Regions from separate parts of the Homo sapiens genome. Here regions 1, 3 and 4 are each linked to region 2. Evidence: promoter capture Hi-C in 16 types of primary human blood cells and fetal thymus (Javierre and others, 2016). All regions are on one chromosome and are shown on one strand. Each heading gives the region's core, a stretch centred on a gene start or on the middle of the fragment in contact. The rest is flanking DNA. Distances are from core to core; before and after follow the strand shown. Region 1 has its middle 25 kb from the start of LEFTY2. Region 2 holds the start of ACBD3 (acyl-CoA binding domain containing 3). Region 3 overlaps PARP1 (poly(ADP-ribose) polymerase 1). Region 4 overlaps SDE2 (spliceosome associated SDE2).

What was found. The method cuts DNA at HindIII sites, captures the fragments that hold promoters and counts their contacts. A CHiCAGO score of 5 or more calls a contact.
Region 1: a fragment that was not itself captured here is called in contact with the fragment with the promoter of ACBD3 in region 2 in 1 of 17 cell types (neutrophils); the score reaches 5.0 in neutrophils.
Region 3: a fragment that was not itself captured here is called in contact with the fragment with the promoter of ACBD3 in region 2 in 1 of 17 cell types (total B cells); the score reaches 5.5 in total B cells.
Region 4: a contact is called between a fragment that was not itself captured here and the fragment with the promoter of ACBD3 in region 2, in 1 of 17 cell types (activated CD4 T cells). The highest score is 6.1, in activated CD4 T cells.

What each region holds. Positions count from the first base shown.
Region 1 is chr1:225,964,929-225,967,628 of GRCh38, reverse strand. No RefSeq gene overlaps it. Among named protein-coding and RNA genes, the nearest start is that of LEFTY2, 25 kb to the right of the region's middle. The HindIII fragment of the contact is 9,237 bases long and covers 1-2,700 here.
Region 2 is chr1:226,185,300-226,187,999 of GRCh38, reverse strand. ACBD3 (acyl-CoA binding domain containing 3) reads left to right here and starts at 1,259. Exons shown (of 8, transcript NM_022735.4): 1 at 1,259-1,610. The coding sequence starts at 1,325. LOC101927247 (a long non-coding RNA gene) reads right to left here and starts at 104. Exons shown (of 2, transcript XR_001738504.2): 1 at 67-104. RefSeq lists silencers at 1,358-1,652, 1,289-1,768. The HindIII fragment of the contact is 12,408 bases long and covers 1-2,700 here.
Region 3 is chr1:226,404,230-226,406,929 of GRCh38, reverse strand. All of the region lies in intron 1 of PARP1 (poly(ADP-ribose) polymerase 1), which reads left to right. Among named protein-coding and RNA genes, the nearest start is that of PARP1, 2.5 kb to the left of the region's middle. RefSeq lists an enhancer at 213-272. The HindIII fragment of the contact is 1,899 bases long and covers 425-2,323 here.
Region 4 is chr1:225,985,448-225,988,147 of GRCh38, reverse strand. It overlaps SDE2 (spliceosome associated SDE2), which reads left to right. Exons shown (of 7, transcript NM_152608.4): 6 at 1-252; 7 at 2,625-2,700. Among named protein-coding and RNA genes, the nearest start is that of SDE2, 13 kb to the left of the region's middle. The HindIII fragment of the contact is 1,874 bases long and covers 396-2,269 here.

The DNA.
Region 1 (2,700 bases), core at 162-2,661, 220 kb after region 2:
CCAGGCTGGAGTGCAGTGGTGTGATCTTGGCTCACTGCAACCTCTGCCTCCAGGGTTCAAGCAATTCTCATGGCTCAGCCTCCCAAGAAACTGTGACTACAGTTGCGCGCCACCATGCCTGGCTATTTTTTTTTTGTATTTTTAGTAGAGACAGGGTTTCACTCTGTTGGCCAGGCTGGTCTTGAACTCCTGGCCTCAGGTGATCTGTCCATCTTGGCCTCTCAAAGTGCTGGGATTATAGACATGAGCCACCGCGCCTGGCCCCTTACTTAATTTAGAGTAAAGGCAAAGACCTAAGTGATATTTTTATGTGTTGCAAATGTCTCCTCCTACTCTCAGCTTTCCATTTCCTTAATGGTGTCTTAAAAATTGTGTTATTGAATATAACATACAAACAGTATGAACAATGAATAAATCAGAATGTACAACGTGAATTTTTTTTTTTACAAATGAACTCTGTAACCAGCATCCAGATCAAGAAACAGAACATTATAAGAACTCCAAAGCCCTGGAGACCCCTTCTGGTCACTACCTTCCAAGGGTACCATTATCCTGACTTGTATAAATGGAATCTGAGAGAAGGCAAGTTTTCTTTTACATGTATGATGTATGTGGGATTCCCTATACGGTTTCATTCATTCATGAGTAGTGGTCATTCATTCATGTTCGTTGCTTTATAGTATTCTAGTGTGCAGCAATTCATCCACTCTACTATTGATGGATATTTGGATAATTCCCAGTTTGGGGGTATTATTAATGGTGCTGCTATGTGAAGGGGTGGCCTTCCCCTCCACACCTGTGGGTATTTCTAGTCAGGTGGGATGAGAGACTGAGAAAAGAAATAAGACACAGAGACAAAGTATAGAGAAACAACCGTGGGCCCAGGGGACTGGCACTCAGCATACCAAGGACCTGCACCGGCACCAGTCTCTGAGTTCCCTCAGTTTTTATTGATTATTATTTTTATTATTTTAGTAAAAAGGAATGTAGTAGGAGAGCAGGGTGATAATAAGGAGAAGGTCAGCAACAAACATGTGAGCAATAGAATCTATGTCATAATGAAGTTCAAGGGAAGGTACTATGACTGGACGTGCACGTAAGTCAGATTTATGTTTCTCTCCACCAAAACATCTCAGCAGAGTAAAGAATAACAAGGCAGCATTGCTGTAAACATGTCTTGCCTCCCACCATAGGGCGGTTTTTCTCCTATCTCAGAATTGAACAAATGTACAGTCGGGTTTTATACTGAGACATTCAGTTCCCAGGGGCAGGCAGGAGACAGTGGCCTTCCTCTATCTCAACTGCAAGAGGCTTTCCTCTTTTACTAATCCACCTCAGCATAGACCCTTTATGGGTGTCGGGCTGGGGGATGGTAAGGTCTTTCTCATCCCACAAGGCCATATTTCAGACTATCACATGGGGAGAAACCTTGGACAATACCCAGCTTTCCAGGGCAGAGGTCCCTGCGGCTTTCCGCAGTGCATTGTGCCCCTGGTTTATTGAGACTAGAGAATGGCGATGACTTTTACCAAGTATACTGCTTGTAAACATGTTGTTAACAAGGCACGTCCTGCACAGCCCTAGATCCCTTAAACTTTGATTTCGTACAACACATGTTTTTGTGAGCTCCAGGTTGGGTCAAAGTGGCTGGGGCAAAGCTACAAATTAACAACATCTCAGCAAAGCAACTGTTTAAAGTACAGGTCTTTTTCAAAATGGAGTCTCTTATGTCTTTCCTTTCTACATAGACACAGTAACAGTCTGATCTCTCTTTCTTTTCCCTACACTATGGAACATTCTCTCTCTCTCTCTCTCTCTCTCTCTCTCTCTCTCTCTCTCTGTAGCAATTTTACTGAACTGGTGCTGCTCCTTTTGTAGGAGGACTAACCCATAGGCACTGTGCCCAGAGTCAGCCTGAACATTCTAGAACTTGCTTTTGATCAACACCTTGTATTAGGGACAGAACTAAAGGGACAGAACTAATAGGATGTATGTATATATGAAAGGAAGTTTATTAAGGAGAATTGACTCACAAGATCACAAGGTAAAGTCCAACGATAGACTCTCTGCAAGCTCAGGAGCAAGGAAGCCAGTAGTGGCTTAGTCTGAGTCTCAAAACCTCAAAAGTCGGGAAGCTGACAGTGCAGCCTTCAGTCTGTGGCCAAAGGCCCGAGAGCCCCTGGCAAACCACCAGTGTAAGTCCAAGAGTCCAAAAACCAAAGAACTTGGAGTCTGATGTTCCAGGGCAGGAAGCATCGAGCACGGGAGAAAGATGAAGGCCTGAAGACTCAGCAACTCTGCCCTTCCATCTCCTGCCTGCTATTTCTAGCCATGCTGCCTCTCCCAGTCCACTGCCTCAAATGTTAATCTCCTCTGCTACCACTGTCACAAAAAAACACCCAGAAACAATACTTTGCATCCTTCAATCCAATCAGGTTGACACTTTTTTTTTTTTTGAGACAGAGTCATGCTCTGTCGCCCAGGCTGGGGTGCAGTGGCGCAATCTTGGCTCACTGCAACCTTTGCCTCCCTGGTTCAAGCAATTCTCCTGCCTCAGTCTCCTGAGTAGCTGGGACTACAGGTGCGCGCCATCATGCCTGGCTAATTTTTGTATTTTTAGTAGAGACGGGGTTTGCCATGTTGACCAGGCTGGTCTTGAACTTTTGGCCTCAAGTGATCTGCCAGCCTCAGCCTCCTCCC
Region 2 (2,700 bases), core at 10-2,509:
AAAAGACTGATCTTTCTCTTTTCTTTATAGAGAATTACAAAATACGCCGGGCGCGGTGGCTCTCACCTGTAATCCCAGCACTTTGGGGAGGCTGAGGCGGGCAGATCACATGAGGTCAGGAGTTTGAGACCAGCCTGGCCAACATGGGGAAACTCTGACTCTACTAAGTTTACAAAAATTAGCCGGGCGTGGTGGTGAGCACCTGTAATCCCAACTACTTGGGAGGCTGAGGCAGGAGAGTTGCTTGAACCCGGGAGGCAGAGGTTGCAGTGAACCGAATTGCACCACTACACTCCAGCCTGGGTGGCACAGCAGGACTGTCTGCAAAAAACAAAAAAAAAAAAAAAAAAAAAAAGTTACAAAATAATTGTTATAGGAAAAGGCAATCAGAAGTACGCAGCCAAAACAAAGGTGGGAAAAATGATCATAAATGGTGCTCCCAAAGTCTGGAAACACAGGTGAATATACATAATGTCGGGGGCGACTTCAATCTTTTAGAAAAAAATAGGTTTCTGGGCTCTCAGACGCCCTGTAGAAGAATATCAGGCAGTCAATGAAAATATTACGGTTATGTGTGTGATGTTTGTGGGTTTTATTAACTTTTAAAATATCATTTGTTTTTTCTTTCTCTTTCTAAATATACATTCACTTTCCTACCCTTCTGCGCGTAACTTTTTGTACTCTTTCCTAATGAGGGTCCCCACAAATTGTATGAGCTGCGCTTCCTGCAAAACCAGGATCAGCCCCGTCTGCAACCTCAAAGTCACTGAATTTCTCTGCAGTCTCAGTTTCCCCTTTTAAAAAAATTGGGAATTTGCCCTGCATTTCCTTAGAGTTGCTGTGAAGGCCAAACGAGATGGTGGTGGGCAAAAGAGCTCTGCCAACCACGCAGGCCCCTGCAAATGTGAAGGGCCTCTGACCTGGAGGGTTGGGTGCTGGCCGACCTCGTCAATCCTCCCTACTCCGACCCCCGCGCGGGGCTCCACTGACCCCGCCCCTGCTGGGCACTGACAGCCGCAGCACCGAACCGAGCGGTGGGGGTGGTAGCACCCGCCCACCTGGAGCAACTGGGATCCGAAAGGATGGGGTGCGGGGGAGGGGAGTTCGGGACCAACGGGAGTTGGGGAGCCTGAAGGGTGGTCGCTGAGCCAGGGCAACTGACGATTCCGGAGGGGGTGGGGCGCCAGGCCTCAGCCCCTCTCCCGGAGCCCTCCAGCCTCCTCAGCAGCGGAAGTTCCGGTGTCGGTAAGCGGAGGTCAGAGGTCAGCAGGAAGTCGATACGTGGCTGCCGTCTGTCCCCGCTGAGGAGGTGCAGCAGCCGGAGATGGCGGCGGTGCTGAACGCAGAGCGACTCGAGGTGTCCGTCGACGGCCTCACGCTCAGCCCGGACCCGGAGGAGCGGCCTGGGGCGGAGGGCGCCCCGCTGCTGCCGCCACCGCTGCCACCGCCCTCGCCACCTGGATCCGGTCGCGGCCCGGGCGCCTCAGGGGAGCAGCCCGAGCCCGGGGAGGCGGCGGCTGGGGGCGCGGCGGAGGAGGCGCGGCGGCTGGAGCAGCGCTGGGGTTTCGGCCTGGAGGAGTTGTACGGCCTGGCACTGCGCTTCTTCAAAGGTGAGCCGGGCCAGCCCCACCCCCGCCGCTTCTGCCCGGCCCCGGGAGCCCGGCGTGGGCTGTGGTCCCCAGGGTGACTGGACCAGACTTGCCCTCACCCACTCATACTGGGCTGTGGTGACTCAAGCGGGGTTCCCTCCTTGGGGGTACCCGAAGTTTGTCACTACCCGCTTGGCCACTAGGTCACACCCCTGACGGGCCTGCAACCTTGGTTTAGCAGTCATGTCCCGCCTCCCAGAGGTTACCGGGACATTTTACCTGATTTAGCTTCTGGGATTTCCAGGAGCCCTGGTGGAAGAATGAGCCCACTTTCTTCCAAAGGATCCCATTCTGGGATTGCCTTTTATTATTATTATTTTTTTAACTGACGCTTTTCTTTTCCTATTTCCCATGGCTTGTCACATCAGAACCCGCCGATTTTTACCCTTAGTGGAAGAAATCTGTCAAGAGGTTCCATACATAGCTTTTCCAGCCATTCTTGGGAACCATAAACTGGAACAGGACTTGATCCCCCGGCAGATTGATGTGGCAGAGAGGAGGAAGTAAAGTGTTAAGCTCATCATCCTCTCCGGCTTGTCAAACTCTTGAGGAGAGATGTCCACTATGTTCTAGTAACTTCTAGGTGGTTAAAATTTTACATTGTAAGCAATGTGCAAGAGTGAATTCTCAGAGTAAGGCCTAACAGTACCTTCTGTGCTTTTCGCATAATTAATTGTTAAATGTCTCTTGTCTTAGAGCAAGATTGTAGTGTGCGGTTTTTTTTTTTTTTAATTGGGTGATTCACTTAGTCGAATGGTGGAGAGACCAATCACATGATTTTTGTCAGTGGGAAAAACTGATGAAAGCCCGTTAGTTTGATTCTTAAAGATACTTAGTCTTGTAGGGCGAATGGACAGGGAGGGACATCAGCAAATGCAACTTTAAAAGTGGTTGCTAGGTTCCACGTACATTCCAGAGCAGCATATTTATGACACTTTCCCCAGAGGGAGTACCTTTTGGAGTACATATTTTACTAGCCAAAGTTGAGTAGTTCAATGTAATGATACACACGGAAGTTGTTTTCTCTCAAAATAACTTTAATTGTGCAAAC
Region 3 (2,700 bases), core at 125-2,624, 220 kb before region 2:
CAAGGTAGCTTGATTTTCCTCCCTTCCATGAGCTGTAATGTGTTTTAGGAATGACCAGATATCCCTCAGTGGATTTTCAGTACTTAGTACAAGGGAGGGCGACATTTACCGAGTGGATACCCAAGTGCCAGGTGTACTTCCGTTATCTTATTTCACAATATGCCTGTCATCTTGGTGTCCTCGGGGCATACCTAAGTCAGTACGTGGCACACAGTGCTTATTTGGTAGGCATTTTTTAAGTTCTAAGCACTCTGTTAGGTTTTAAGGACACAGAATCCACCTTTGGGAATTTCCAGTTTGGTTAAACGGGAAATGACTGGTAAACAAACGTTACCGTAAGAGAGGATGGATGCCACCTGATGGAGCTGTGCTCTAGGCATTGTGTGCCTAGGAGTCCGAGATGACCCAGCTAAGGGTGGAAGCTTGATTAGGAGTCGTTAATTCACAGAAGTGGAGCAGAAAGATGAGAATAGGGAAGTAGACAGGGCCTACAATTTGAAGAGCCTTGTTGCCCACTAAGGAACCTAGAACTTACTTTGAATATACAAGGCAGCCTGTTATGAAGTTCTCACTCCTGGTGCAGGAGCTCTTAACCCAGGGTCTGTGGGATGGTAGGTAGAAGGCAAGAGGTCCATGAGTTTAGATAAGAAAAAATTGATATCTCCATCTCCACTAACCTCTAGATAAAATTATTTCCTCTAATCATAAATGTAAGCAGCAAAGCAAAGGCATATTAGCAGTCCCTATTTTTTTTTCACCAGTGATAATTACAGATATTTTCATATCACTTTACAGTTGGAAGTTTTTCAAAATATAATTTACTCTCATTGCTACAAAAATCACAGTTATTAGAGGCTGTACTAGATCTTGTTATTTAATGCTTAAAAGCTCACGGGTTACTGTACCCAAATTACCTTTCAAATGTTTTGATAATTATCTCAGTGTTTCCTTTTCGAGCCTTTTTGTTTGTTTTGTTTTTTGAGATGGGGTCTCACTATGTTGCCCAGGCTGGTCTCAAACTCCTGAGCTCAAGCGATCCATGCACCTCGGCCCCACAAAGTGCTAGGGTTACAGGCATGAGCCACCGTGACTGGCCATTTGCGAGCCTTTTTATTACGCATTTTTAAATGTTATTCTGAGAAAGGGACATCCAGGCGCCTTAACAGGTGGGCAGAGTACCGTGTTCTGGTGGAAAGACAAACAAAACCCAAGTCCAGACTGTGTTGAGGCTAGAACAACACCGCTGTGGAGGAAGTTAGAGGAGGCTTAGCTGTGGGGGAGGCCGGATGGAGGAAACTGAACCTGATCAAGTTTAGCATTCTGGGGCCGGGCTTGGTGGCGCATGCTTGTAATCTCAGCACTTTGGGAGGCTGGGGTGGGCAGATTACTTAAGCTCAGCAGTTTGAGACCAGCCTGGCCAACATGGTGAAACCTGTCTCTACAAAAAAATGCAATGATTAGCGGGTCGTGGTGGTGCGTGCCTGTTAAGTCCCAGCTACTCCGGAGGCTGAAGCTGGAAGATTGCTTGAGCCTGGGAGGTGGAGGTTGCAGTGAGCTGAGATAGTGCCACTGCACTCCAGCCTGGGCGACAGACCCAGACCCAGACCCAGACCCTGTCTGAAAAAAAAAATAGTAATAACAACATTCTGGGCTTTCCTTTGGTATACTTGATAGTGAAAGAAACTCTTTATTATTAAAAGTAACTGTGATTTTTATGTAATGGTGATTAAGGGTGGATTCAGAGTTTTAATTCAGAATTTAAAGTTGGTCTGGTAGACTGAGCTGGTGAAGGCCAAAAAGAAAGAAGCCTTTTCACTTGCTTGAATTTAAATACCTTCTTTTACATTTACATGGGAGTATTGTTCTCTGAGTATCTGATACCTGACACTTTAGCCCTCATGCCTGGGGCATCTTGGGAGGGATGAGCTGGGCCCTCCAGCATTTTGGTGGGAGGAGGATGGCGGTAGACCTTTGAGTTGCTCTGTCCTGGGAGGGTTTGAGCACCCGGAGGCATGCAGTGAGGTCAGTTCATTCTCTCTGTGGCCTAGGTGGACAGGTAGCATGGCCTGTTCTGCACAGAAGGGAACCCAGTTCACCAGCTGCTGGTTGGGTGAGGACCCTGGTATGTTAGGTGCTCAGTTTTTGCTTGGGTGCACAGCCAAAGATTCTGTGCCTTGCCTCAGCTGTGCAGCTAACAAATGGAGTCGATAGTCTTGTGACCTTGGTTTGGTGCCTTTCTGCCACATCATTCTCAGTCCTGAGTTTAGGGCAAAGCATTGCTTTGGTCAGGGGTGCTTCTGCTGAGGCTCTTGTCCTCTAAGCTTGTGCTGTGATTGCACCATTGGGCAGCACCTCCAGGGTGTCCAGCACTGTGCCGGTGGTTGGGGGAGACAGCACCCAGACCAAAGGGCAGCAGGTCTGGGGCCCCTGGCAGAGCCAGGAAGAAGTGCCATAGCCATTACCTGTGCTCTTTATACAAGGGTAACTGGAACATTGCACAGGAAGGGTAGACAAGGGGTAGACAAGCAGGCAGAGCCAGGTCGAGGCCATTGCAAATATTCCATGATAGCCAGATGCTTAGGGATCTGTATCAGCAGCCTAATTGAGATCTGGTGGAACGTTTGAGAGTTGGAACATGAGTATGCTCTCAGAAATGCCATTTGTTGTCTCTTCTACAGCAGGAATTTCCCCATCCTTCCT
Region 4 (2,700 bases), core at 83-2,582, 200 kb after region 2:
GAAGACTCATGTGCTGAGCTGGGGGAGTCCAAAGAGCACATGGAAAGCAGGATGGTTACAGAAACAGAAGAGACCCAGGAGAAGAAGGCAGAGAGTAAAGAACCCATAGAAGAGGAGCCCACTGGGGCTGGACTGAATAAGGATAAAGAGACAGAAGAAAGGACTGATGGGGAAAGAGTTGCTGAGGTAGCACCTGAAGAAAGGGAAAACGTTGCCGTTGCCAAACTGCAGGAAAGCCAGCCAGGAAACGCAGTAAGTATGTTTTGGGGTTGATACCTAGAGCCAAATCAGTTTAATCTCCACAATAAGTCATTAAAATGAAAATGTGCTTTTGCCCCTCAGCTGCTTAGTGAAAGGCTTATTTGATTTTAAGAAGTACAGATTATGGTGAAGCTTGCCTTATTCCCCAAAAACTTTTTAAGTTCTGGCATTTATACTATGTTGCCACTAGGTGGTGTCCTTGATTCCATATTGCATCAATTGTAAGATGCATGTTTTCCACATTTTAGCATGTCTAAAATGAGATGTGTATAACATATTATAACTTAATTGGTATTGTTTATTCTTAGTAATACATGAATGAGGGTATATTATGATAGATGGCATTTTAGATTTGATGAAATGTGCTCATTTTTCCCGTCACTAAATTGCTACTCAGCTTTTTCTAATGTGAGGATAGCTTGAACAATAGTTTCAGCTGAATGTGAAGACCTCTTCTATAGAAGAGGAACCTCCTTTTAAATTTATCATTAAATCTTAAGTACCCACAGTCAGCCTTTTAAAAAAGGCATCTTCAGCCAGGTGCGGTGGCTCACGCCTGTAATCCCAGCACTTTGGGAAGCTGAGGTGGGCAGATCACCTGAGGTCAGGAGCTTGACACCAGCCTGGCCAGCATGGTGAAACCCTGTCTCTATTAAAAATACAACAACAACAAAAATTAGCCGGGCATGGTGGTGCACGCCTGTAATCCCAGCTACTCAGGAGGTTGAGCCACGAGAATGGCTTGTGCCCTGGGAGGTGGAGGTTGCAGTGAGATGAGATTGTACCACTGTACTCCAGCCTGGGCGACAGAGTGAGACTCCATCTCAAAAAATAATAATAAAAAGGCATTTTCATAGTACATTCTCTCAAAAAGTTGGTTTTTCACTATCTACAATGGACTGGCTTCCAGCAAAAATCTCTGTGCTTTGATCTAATGGTTTGCTTTTTAGAATAGGTGAAACCTAAACTACTTAATTTCCTTCGATAAACACAAAACCTACCATTTGTTTAGCCAGCACCTTCCCCTGCCCCCAGTAAGTAAGTAAAAATGCATAAATTGCCCTTTCTGGTGAGACTATTGGAATTTTTTTATGCTAAGGTCCTTACAATCTCTGAATTTGTAAGCATGTAATTTTTGTGTTATGTGTATACAGGTAAGAGCTTTATCCTGACTGAAGTCTTAGAAAAATAAAAAAGGAATCATAGGATAAAACCTGATATTTTTCAGTGTTAGCCATGGAGTTTTGTTCTTGATGTTGTAGTAATAGCTGTTGTATTCCTAACAACCAAGTGTGATTCTTTAAACACACATAAGTGGCATTTTAGAATTTGGTCATAAATAAGCCAAGGTTAACTCCCAGAAATCTAACAAAACAGCTTTTTTAAGAAAACAAAGATCAACTAGAAAGATAGAGTATGTCTCCAGAGCTCTTTAATATTTTAAAACTGTGAAAGTTATTCTTTGAATATAAAAAATCACTCAAAGATAGACATTTTCATTCTTTTCAAGGTATCATTAGCAGTATTTAATTTTGTCTTTTTTTTTTTTTTAATGACAGAGTCTCACTCTGTTGCTCAGGCTGGAGTGCAGTGGTGTGATTTCTGCTCTACCTCCCAGGTTCAAGTGATTCTCCTGCCTCAGTCTCCCAAGTAGCTGAGACTACAGGCACGCTGAGACTACAGGCACGCACCACCACACCCGGCTAATTTTTGTATTTTTAGTAGAGACGGGGTTTCACCATGTTGACCAAGCTGGTTTCGGACTCCTAATCTCAAGTGTTCCGCCTGCCTCCACCTCCCAAAGGGCTGGGATTACAGGCTAATTTTGTCTTAAAGTCTATAAAGGCACTTGGTGGGTAGAACAGTTGCAAGTCTATTGAACAGCATTTGAGTTTGTTGAGTTATATAAGGGAGAGGTCTGACAATTAGTTTTAATTACTCAATTAGAATAGAAAGCATTAAGATTATGGAATTAGTAGATTCAGAGGCATGGGATTCTCATTAAGCTTTTAGGAGTGCCTGCTCTTTCTGTGGGAATAGTGTGGGGATAGGCTGGCTATATTTTACTGTTTAGATGTTTACTAGAAAAATCGGAAAAGAAAGCAATATTAAAAATCTGTTTGGGAATGCTATACTTCTGTTACTGTTCTGAATGCTTGTTTCTAAATGTATAGATGAAAAATTAGTTATTATGTGTGTTGAGAATACTTATGGAATAACATGTGGATGGATGATGATTAAAATTCAGTTGCAAGGTATGGCAAATTAAATGAAAATTTCTCAAGAAATGTAGTTGACAGTTAAAGAGTCTTTATTCAGAGGAAGGAGCCTGTTTTAAATATTTTCTTATTTTTTTCCCTCAGGTTATTGATAAGGAAACTATAGATTTATTGGCGTTCACCTCTGTTGCAGAACTGGAGTTGCTGGGTTTGGAGAAGC